Regions from separate parts of the Homo sapiens genome. Here region 2 is linked to region 1. Evidence: promoter capture Hi-C in human tissues and cell types (Jung and others, 2019). All regions are on one chromosome and are shown on one strand. Each heading gives the region's core, a stretch centred on a gene start or on the middle of the fragment in contact. The rest is flanking DNA. Distances are from core to core; before and after follow the strand shown.

What was found. Contacts are between HindIII fragments. The study calls those that stand out against the background at their distance.
Region 2: a contact is called between the fragment with the promoter of ADSL here and the fragment with the promoter of APOBEC3F in region 1, in 1 of the 25 tissues and cell types used here (dorsolateral prefrontal cortex).

The regions. Positions count from the first base shown.
Region 1 is chr22:39,038,869-39,044,394 of GRCh38, reverse strand. It overlaps APOBEC3F (apolipoprotein B mRNA editing enzyme catalytic subunit 3F), which reads right to left and starts at 3,531. Exons shown (of 7, transcript NM_145298.6): 1 at 3,418-3,531; 2 at 1,305-1,458. The coding sequence starts at 3,434. RefSeq lists a silencer at 755-985 and enhancers at 1,832-2,609, 3,662-3,721. The HindIII fragment of the contact is 19,854 bases long and covers 1-5,526 here.
Region 2 is chr22:40,342,833-40,347,775 of GRCh38, reverse strand. ADSL (adenylosuccinate lyase) reads right to left here and starts at 1,276. Exons shown (of 13, transcript NM_000026.4): 1 at 1,065-1,276. The coding sequence starts at 1,217. RefSeq lists enhancers at 221-733, 734-1,247, 1,248-1,761 and silencers at 934-1,023, 3,404-3,576. The HindIII fragment of the contact is 18,864 bases long and covers 1-4,943 here.

The sequences.
Region 1 (5,526 bases), core at 2,282-4,781:
ATGTCCCCATCTCAGTCCTGCTGTTGAAGCATCATCACAAAGTGCACCAAGACATGAGCTTCCCTTCGTTTGGAAGTTTTCCCAGCCCTGTTCAGAGCCTCATGCGTGAATTCTGGCATCCATTCTCCCAGGCATCCATTCACCAGGCATCCTCAGCCCCTGCTGTGGCCTGGCCCTCTAGGGTCTGCCTTGTTCCCTGCCTGCGGTCAGCTGGGGAGGCCACTGGACCTGCGCTGTCCCATGTGGTGGGGCGCACTGGCCAAAGGGGCTACTGAGCACTTGAAATGGGGCTCTGATGAAAGACCTGGGCACCTGAAAAATACACCATACACCGCTCATTTATCTTTTTTTGTTTTTTGTTTTTGTTTTGAGACGTAGTTTCACTCTTGTTGCCCAGGCTGGAGTGCAATGATGCAATCTCGGCTCACTACAACCTCTGCCTCATGGGTTCAAGCGGTTCTCCTGCCTCAGCCTCCCAAGTAGCTGGGATTACAGGCGACTGCCACCACACCGGGCTAATTTTTTTTTTGTATTTTTAGTAGAGACGGGATTTCACCATGTTGGCCAAGCTGGTTTTCAAACATCTAACCTCAGGTGATCCACCCACCTCGGCCTCCCAAAGTGCTGGGATTACAGGCGCGAGCCACCCACCAAGCGTGGCCTACACAGCTCATTTCAAAGACTCAGTGTGACAAAAAGAAACTTCATTATCTTGTCAAGAATTTTATGTTAATTAATGTTGAAGTAATATGTTAGCCACATTGGATTAATTAAATATTAAAATTAGGCCGGCGCTGTGGCTCACACCTGTAATCCCAACACTTTGGGAGGCCGAGGCAGGTGGATCACCTGAGGTCAGAAGTTCGAGACCAGCCTGGTGAATATGGTAAAATCCTGTCTCTACTAAAAATACAAAAAAAAAAAAAATTAGCTGGGCGTGGTGGTGGGCACCTGTAATCCCAGCTACTCGGGAGTCTTAGGCGACAGCATCGCTTGAACCCAGGAGGCAGAGGTTGCTGTGAGCCGAGATCGCGTCATTGCACTCCAGCCTGAGCAACAAGAGTGAAACTCTGTCTCAAAAAAAAAAAAAAAAAAACACAAGGCCTTTTGTGCAAAGGCAAACCCCCTCCACGATCCGATCCCAGGACGGTCCAGCAGGAAGGTCAGGGCCACGGACTTGGAAAGTGTGGGAGAGAAGGACACACTGGATAGCCCGCCGCCGGGCACTTCACTTATCAGTGCGTGGTTTGCTTTCCCAGCTGGCTTAGCTCCTGCCTGCAAAGTGATTGAAGTCCGGGTGGTACCTGGCCTCGAAAGATCTTTGCGTCCAAACGGGGCCTTGAGGGACCCTTTGTTTTCACTTCGTAGCACAGCCAGACGGTATTCCGACGAGAAAGGATGGGTCTATTATAAAAGTTGTAGGAGAATGTGTCTCGATACATTCGCTCCACTGTGTTTCTGAAGACACAAGAGAGAAACCAGCCAATGTAGAGAGCGCTCCCGGGAGCCCTCAGGGCTGATGTCCACTAAACACAGCCCCCTGCATGGCTCTGGGCCTCCCCAACCCCTCCACAGCCCTGAGAATTTTTGCTTCCTTCCCAGGCAGGAAGACCGGGGAGAGAGCAAGAAAAGGGGATGCTGGCATGGGCAGCAGGGGCAGGCTGACCTCTTCCAGCTCAGGGTCCAGCTCTGGTCGTTCCAGGAGTACATTCCCCACCTTCCCAGTATTTCTCCCACCCATTCTCCAACGCATTAGTAAAATGCAAAAGAGAACAAAGTTCTTGGCTGGACATTATGGCTCATGCCTGTAATCCCAGCACTTTGGGAGGCCGAGGTAGGCCCATCACTTGAGGTCAGGAGTTTGAGACCAGTCTCACCAACATGGTGAAACCCAGTCTCTACTAAAAATATAAAAATTAGCCAAGCGTGGTAGTGGGTGCCTGTAATCCCAGCCACTGTGGAGGCTGAGGCAGGAGAATCGCTTGAACCTGGGAGGCGGAGGTTGTAGTGAGCCGAGATCGTGCCACTGCACTCCAGCCTGGGCTACAAGAGCGAAACTCCATCTCAAAAAAAAAAAAAAAAAAGAGAGAGAGAATAAAACTATTCACCCCAAAATAATAGATTTTAACCTTTCAGCCAGTTCCTTCTGACATTTCACCTCTGTATATTACTATTGTTAAATCATGGTAGAACCGAATTCTGAGGCCCAGGCCACTCTTCTAAGTGCTGCGCGGATGTGAGCTCATGTGAGGCTGCCCTAGGCCCGCACGGGCCATTCCCATCTTACAGAGGAGGTGCCAGAGGCGCAGAGAGATGGGGTAACCTGCCCAGGCCACAGAGCTGGGGACGGATGGGGCTGGGGCCTCTTACCAGACCAGCCCTGTCCAGTCTCTGTGTCACCAGCCTTGCAGGAGGGAGCCATTGGGGACCAGACTCTCTTCTTACTAAATTTTAAAATAATAGCATTTCTCCTGATCATTGAGTTTTTTTCCCATATATTCCATGTTTTTTGTTTTTGTTTTTTTTTCTTTTGAGACGAAATTTGGCTCTTGTTGCCCAGGCTGGAGTGCGATGGGGCGATCTCGGCTCACTGCAACCTCCGCCTCCTGGGTTCAAGCGATTCTCCTGTCTCAGCCTGTGGAGTAGCTGGATTATAGGCGCCCGCCACCACACCCGGCTAATTTTGTATTTTTAGTAGAGACAGGGTTTATCCATGTTGATCAGGATGGTCTCGAACTCCCGACCTCAGGCAATCCACCCACCTCAGCCTACCAAAGTGCTGGGATGACAGGTGTGAGCCACCGCACCCGGCCACTATATTCCATGTTACTCGTGTCATTTATAAACAGTGAATGCTGATAGTGGAGGAGGAGCGTGTGTTTGGGGTCATCTGCATCCTCCTCTGCCCACAGTGGAGACATCCTTGGAAGATACGATTTATCTTGTGCTTCAGAGACCATTCCCTCCCCACACCCTCTCCTAAGACTTGCTATTTAAGCAAAGTAAATGTTACAGAAAATCCATCAAAGCACTGTGAACAAAATTCCACATTGCTCTAATCATCCTTTGGTTCAATTCTCCCAGTTCCAGAGTTCAGGAATGGCGGAAAGAACACAGAGGGAGCACCCTCCCAGGGCCGGGAGCACCAGCCCTGCCATGACTTTCGGTGGCGGGGGAGAGTCTCAGCAGGGCACCTGGGCTGGGGCAGGTGGGGAAGCGGCCTATTCAGAAGCAGCAGTGGGGCAACCACAGAGCAGGAAAAAGAGCCTGGCTGGGAGTGGCGGGGGCAGGGGAGCCAGAGGGGAGGGAGCCCAGGGCTGGGGCTGGGGCAGGGGGAGGCCAGGGCTGACGCCCAGCAGAGCCACCAGGCAGGAAGGGGCAGCAGAGGGGCCCAGCGGGTAGAGCGGGCAGCGGTACCTGAAGTGAGGCTTCATCCTTGGCCGGCTAGTCCCGACTAAGATCTTTGTCTGGAGCACCAGGGTTTCACTTTCTGCTCCAGGCTCCAGGTTTCAGGACAGCCCTCCCTAAAGTGACCTCCCAGGGCCTCGTAGTCATGGCCCCTCCCCCTTCCTGCTCAGGCGCTGGTGTAGGAGGCCCTGGGACGCTTTATCTTCCTCAGTCTCTCACCCTCTTTCTGGTTTTCTCTGGGGCCCTCCCCCTGGCAGAGGGACCTCTGATAAAGACAGGCCGCTCTGTGCGGCAGGACCCAAGGCAATTGCAAAGGGAAAGAGAAAGTCATTGCAGCCAGCGCCCGCGAGGTGGGTCCACACCAGGCTGAGCCAGCAGAGCACAAGCCCCTCCCCTGGTGGTCCCGCCCAGCTGGAGCCTCCTCTCCACCATCAAGACAGACAGGCTGATGCCTCCGCAGGGACTCCCGGATCCTGCCCTCGGGGATCATCCCAGAGACGGCCCCCACCCAGCGGCCATGGGGACAGGGAGGGAGAGTAAAGGGCCAGGTGTCTGCCTCTCCCCAGGCCTTCACCCTCGGAGGCCACCGTGGGAGGGAGGGACAGCAGGTGGGTGTGGGCCTCAGATGTCCCACCGGGATGCCATGCGCGCCCCCACACTGAGCTCTTTCCTTCCTGCTTCTCCTTCTTCCCCATCTCCTGCCCGGAGTTCCTCCCTGGTGGGCTGAGCTCTCGCCTCCTCTTGTCCCCATGTCATGGAAGAGCAGTGGCTGGTGTCCCAGGCCAGCCTGTCTGGAGCCTCCCTGCGCGTCTCACAGCTCCCTTCCCCTGGTAGCGTGTTCCCATGGCGCGGTGACCTAAAAATTACACAAGGGATGCATTTGGTTTTTTTGTTTGCTTTTGTTTTTTTGTGTTTTTTTGTTTGTTTGTTTGTTTTGAGACGGAGACTTGCTCTGTTACCCAGGCTGGAGTACAGTGGCGTAATCTCAGCTCACCGCAACCTTTGCCTCCCAGGTTCAAAAGATTCTCCTGCCTCAGCCTCCCATGTAACTGCGATTACAGGCACCCACCCCTACGCCTAGGCTAATTTTTGTATTCTTAGTAGAGACAGTGTTTCTCCATGTTGGTCAGGCTTACAGCCGCCCACCACTATGCCTGGCTAATTTTTGTATTTTTAGTAGAGACAGGGTTTCTCCATGTTGGTCAGCTGATCTCGAACTCCCGATCTGAGGAGATCCGCCCGCCTTGGCGTACCAAAGTGCCGGGATTACAGGTGTGAGCCACCGCGCCTGGCCACAATGTATAAATTTGGAAAGGAGATTTTATTTCTTGTTAAGGGTGACAGGCAGCAAGGTAGCCATCCCGCAGCCTGGGAAGAGCAGCCTCTGGGAAACACCAGAGACAGACATTTAGAAGCAGGAGGGGTTGGGGCAGGAGCTTTATGCTGAAGGGGTTGGCTAAACATACATATTCAACAGGCTATAGGAGGAGCTATGAATATTCATGTGGGTGGCTGCACTCCATGCTTATTGAACAAACATGCGTGTAACATATGATCCCAGGCAGGCACAGTGGCTCACGCCTGTAATCCCAGCATTTTGGGAGGCCGAGGCAGGTGGATCATCTGAGGTCAGTGTCAGGCCTCTGAGCCGGAGCTAAGCCATTGTGACCCCTGTGAACTGCACATATACATCCAGATGGCCTGCAGCAGCCAAGAAGTCTGGAGCAGCCAAAAAAACACAAAAGAAGTGAAACAGCCAGTTTCTCCCTTAACTGATTAACCAACCTTAAGACATTCCACCATTAGGACTTGTTCCTGCCCTACCCTAACTGATCAATCGACCTTATGACATTCTTCTTCTGGACAATGGGTCTCATGGTCTCCCACCATGCACCTGGTGACCCCCTCCCCTGCTGACAACAGATGACCACCTTCGACTGTAACTTTCCACCACCTACCCAAGTCCTATAAAGCTGCCCCTCTCTTATCTCCCTTCGCTGACTCTCTTTTCAGACTCAGCCCACTTGCACCCAAGTGAATAAATGGCGTTATTGCTTACACAAAGCCTGTTTAGGTGGTTTTCTATACAGACACGCATGACAGTGAGGAGTTCGAGAC
Region 2 (4,943 bases), core at 27-2,526, 1.3 Mb before region 1:
TACTCTTCAGGGTTGTTTGGAGGATTAATAAGCAACCATGTGTAAAGGGTTAAGACCTGGGTCTCAGAAGGCACTATCTGAATGTCTGCTATTATTGTAGTGTATCGCCCAATATTTTGGAGGGCAGTGATAAGGGGAGGGAGGGAATCTAGAATGAAAGTTTCCTGTTTGGAGAGTTCCATGGTACAGGTCCTAGGCCCGAAGTCAAATTGTTTCCATGTTTACTGTGCCGTTTGAGAGGGCATTGCCAACTTGCTCGTTGTGGCACTTTCCTCTGAAACTTGAGGAGAAACATTATCGCTCTCTGGATCACCTTCAGTTTGCTTCAACTCTTCTGGAGCTATTTCTGAAACCGCTGGGCTAAGAAGTTCTCTATGCAGCCCTTAGAAAAGAAATTATAAACCCCGTTTAATAAACCCCTACCCGGAGTCTTCTCCTAAGAGGCAAAGCGGAGGCCAGTGAGGCAGAAACGGTGGCCTAGAAAACAAGCATTCCAGTCCTGTCACTAACTACACAGGCACTGTGGAAAACCAAGGGGCTACGTGCTCAGCTCAGGCTCTGGAGTGCACCCAGGTTCAAATCCCAGTTCCGTTCTTAATAGCTGGATGGGCTAGGGCAAACAACAAGCTGTCCGGGCTTTGTTCTCCCCTGCAATGTGGGAAAAACACCATCAAGCCTGCAAGATCTTCATGGATTACACAAGAAAAGATTAGTGAAATAATGAGCACAACAGTACGAAACAAGCGCTCGGTGTCTGTGGTTAGCAGCGTACTCCTGCGGGGATGGCCAAAATGAATTCCCTGAAACTACAGGCTGAATTTCTCCCAGCCTCCTCCGCGTCTCGAACCCTCTCGGACTGAGAACACGTGAGGCAACAGGTGGCGGCTCCCGGATCTCCTGCCCTTGCTTTCCTGGGGCCGCAGCTCCTCAGGACAGGGAACACCCAGCTGAAAATAGCCGGGCCGCAGCTCCGGGGTGGCTAAGCCCAGCCCGGAACAGAGCCCGGCACGTGCTGGGGCGGGCCCGTCCCTCCCGGCCCAGCCCCTCAGCCCGGGATCCGTTACCTGCTCGGCCTCCGCCAGCCACAGCCACAGCTGCCGCCATGTCCGGAATTTATACCTGTCGCTAAACACGAAGCACATCTCCGGGCTGGCATAGCGGGAGGCAAGAGGTGAGCGGTAGCTGTCGGGCGAACCATGATCGCCTCCAGCCGCCATCCCAACCCTGCGACCCCGCCAGGGTGGACTGGACCAGGGAAGAGCGGAAGCGGAAACCTGGAGGCCAGGGCAGGACGGGGCGGGGCGGGACTTCCTTCACGCGGTCTCGCTCTCTGGGTTCCGGGCGCCCTGGGCGCTGCCGGCTGCGGAGAATCTCCGCTGCTTCTGCCTGAGAATTGACTTGGTTCGCTTCTTTGACCAGAAACATGATTGATGCTTCCTACGTTACTTAGCCGCGCTACACTTTAGTTTTCCTGTCTGAAAAGAGGTACATTAAGACTTCCTTGGCCGGGCGCGGTGGCTCACGCTTGTAATCCCAGCACTGTGGGGGCCCCAGACCGGAGGATCGCTTGAGGCCGACAGATCGAGACCAGCCTGGGCAACACAGGGAGACCCTCCCGTCTCTAAAAAACAAAAAGCAAAAAAAAAAAAAAAAAAAAAGGCCTGCCTTTCGGGTTGTGCGGATTCAGTGTTAGAGCGGTGTCTGGCACACTTGGAAGGCCGTGTGTACGCTTGCTGTTACTCTTATTACTGTCGCCCCACCCACTCCTGCCCGCGGCGCACCGAGCTCGGCTCTAAGGAGAAATGAAGATACCCAAGGGAAATCGGCATTTACTGCGCCCCCAGTGAGCCGGCTGCGGTGGCCTACGCCTGTAATCCCAGCACTTCGGGAGGTCGAGGCAGGCAGATTTCCTGAGCTTAGGAGTTTGAGACCAGCCTGGGCAACACGTGAAACCCTGTCTCTACTAAAATACAAAAAATTAGTCGGGCATGGCGGCCTGTACCTGTAGTCTCAGCTACTTGTGAGGCTGAGACAGGAGAATTTCTTGAACCCGGAAGGCGGAGGTTGCAGTGAGCCAAGATCGCGCCACTGCACTCCAGCCTGGGCGACAGAGCGAGACTCCGTCTCCAAAAAATAAAAGAATTAAATAAATAAATAGAAATAGAAACACTCAAGTGGCCCCCCCCCTTTTTTTTTTTTTTGACAGGGTCTTGCTATGTTGTTCAGTCTGGAGTGCCAGTGGGGTGATCACACAGGAAAGGGTTCATCTGGAGCTGTAAGAGCCAGGTGTCTCAGCTGGGCACGGTGACTCACGCCTATAATCTCAGCACTTTGGAGGCTGAGCTGGGCAGATCGCTTGAGTCCAGGAGTTGGAGACCAGCCTGAGCAACATGATGAAACACTGTCTCTACAAAAAATACAAAAATTAACTGGGTATGGTGGTGTGCACCTGTAGTCCCAGCTACTTGGGAGGCTGAGGTGGGAGAATCACTTGAGCCCAGGATGTTGAGGCTGCAGTAAGCCATGATTTTGCCACTACAGCTTAGGCAACAGTGAGACCCTGTCTCAAAAACAAAACAAACGAAAAGAGCCGGGTGCCTGCACCCTCTCCACCTGCACTTAACTCCTAGCTCTCTGCCTTTTACGTGAGGAATCTAAAGACACTCAAGCCAGGTGTGGTGGCTCACGCCTGTAATCCCAACACTTTGAGAGGCCGAGGCGGGAAGATCGCTTGAGCCCAGTACTATGCTGCTTTGAAATTACTTGTTTCTGAGTGCCTTACTAAAATGAGACCTGTGGAGGAATTCCAATTTTAACTCCCAGTTTATTTGCTGAGAGTTAACTTCACTTTTCCAATAACCATAATATTTCTAGACTATTACAAGTACATGATTAAGGGCCAGGCACGGTGGCTCACACCTGTAATCCCAGCATTTTGGGACGCTGAGGCAGGTGGATCACCTGAGGTCAGGAGTTGGAGACCAGCCTGGCCAACATGGTGAAACCCCATCTCTACTCAAAATACAAAAATTAGCCAGGTCGTGGTGGCAGGTGTCTGTAATCTCAGCTACTTAGGAGGCTGAGGCAGGAGAATCACTTGAACCCAGGAGGTGGAGGTTGCAGTGAGCCGAGATCGTGCCACTGCACTCCAGCCTGGGCAACAAAGTGTGACTCCAACTCAAGAAAAAAAAAAAAAAAGTACATGATTAGATCTCAAGGCTTCAAGATCTTTTCTTTGACAATAACTTCTTTTCCAGTCACCTTCCCATTCCTGCTTTCATTCACAGATTCACTCAAAAACCTATGGAGCACCCATGACAGTGTTCTCCCTCCACACCTCTGGGCTTTCTTAGATGCTGAGTGACCTCCCGGCTTCTTTTTTTTTTTTTTTTTTTTTTTTTTTTGAGACAGAGTCTCGCTCTGTCGCCCAGCCTGGAGTTCAGTGACATGATCTCGGCTCACTGCAAGCTCCCCGTCCCGGGTTCACGCCATTCTCCTGCCTCAGCCTCCCTAGTAGCTGGGACTGCAGGCGCCCACCACCACACCCGGCTAATTTTCTGTATTTTTTTTAGTAGAGATGGGGTTTCACCGTGTTGGCCAGGATGGTCTCGACCTTCTGATCTGCCCTTCTCGGCCTCCCTAAGTGCTGGGATTACAGGCATGAGCCACCGTGCCCGGCCTCTTTTTCTTTTATTTATTTATTTATTTTTTTTTAAGACAGAGTTTCACTCTTGTTGACCAGGCTGGAGTGCAATGGTGTGATCTCTGTTCACCGCAACCTCCACCTCCCGGGTTCAAGCGATTCTCCCTCCTCAGCCTCCTGAGTAGCTGGGATTACAGGCATGCGCCACCACACCTGGCTAATTTTGTTTTTTCGTTGTTTTTTTTTTTTTTTTTTTTTTAGAGACGGGGTTTCTCCATGTTGGTCAGGCTGGTCTTGAACTCCTGACCTCAGGTGATCCACCCACCTTGGCCTCCCAAAGTGCTGGGATTTCAGGCGTGAGCCACCACGCCCGGCTGGATGCTGAGACCTCCTGGCATCTCTTTCAAAACTCTTACCAGAATTCAGTGTTGCTTGCCTTGCTCATTGATGGCAAACTCAGTGGGGCAAGAGATCATGTCTGTGTTCCTGGCACTGAGCCCCAAACCTGGCATAGCATAGGTGCTCAGTAAATGTTTGCTGGATGCATAAATGCTGCCCCAAAGGAGCCTAGCCCAGTAAGAGAAATAACGCCCACAATAGCCATGATACAAGTTAGATTCTGCCACTATACTTCCTCTTCCTCCACACTTCCTCGGTGTCCTCATTCCCTGGCTTGTTCATGCCTCCACCTGAACTCCAGAGTTAGCTGTCAGAATTGACTAGAGTGCCAATTTCAGAATATTCAGGCCATCAGAGAAGCCTGTCAGTCACCTGGGCTCGTCACTGAAGTCTTCTTCCACCTCCCCTCTTGAACTGCAGAGGACTGGTTTTGGGGGTGAGGGCAGTCACAGTTCTGGAAAGATGAAGAATTTGCTCCATCAAACTCCCCACTCTTTGCAGAGTGCTTCCTGGCACTCATTGCTTTGATACACTGTGATAAATTTACTTTTCTCATTTTCTACCCATGCCTCTTGTAAAAGGTGGAAAGATTTATATAATCTGAAGAGAAACCAGAGCACGTACCCATGCCCATTGTAAACTCAGTGATCTCCTCAGTCTTCTAGGCCTCTGTTCTTCCTCTGCTTCACTTTGCTGTTACTTTTCCTCCTCCAAACAAGTTTCTACCTGAGTCTTCTTCCTCATTCAGGAAAAGATCTTGCTTGATCATTTTGTCTTATATCTTTCATCACCCCAGTTCTGTTTCCCTTCTCCTCTGATTTTTTATTTTTCAAGACCTTGTCTCAGGCTGTTTAGTTTTTTAGAAATGGGGTCTGTCACCCAGGCTAGAAGACAGTGGCAT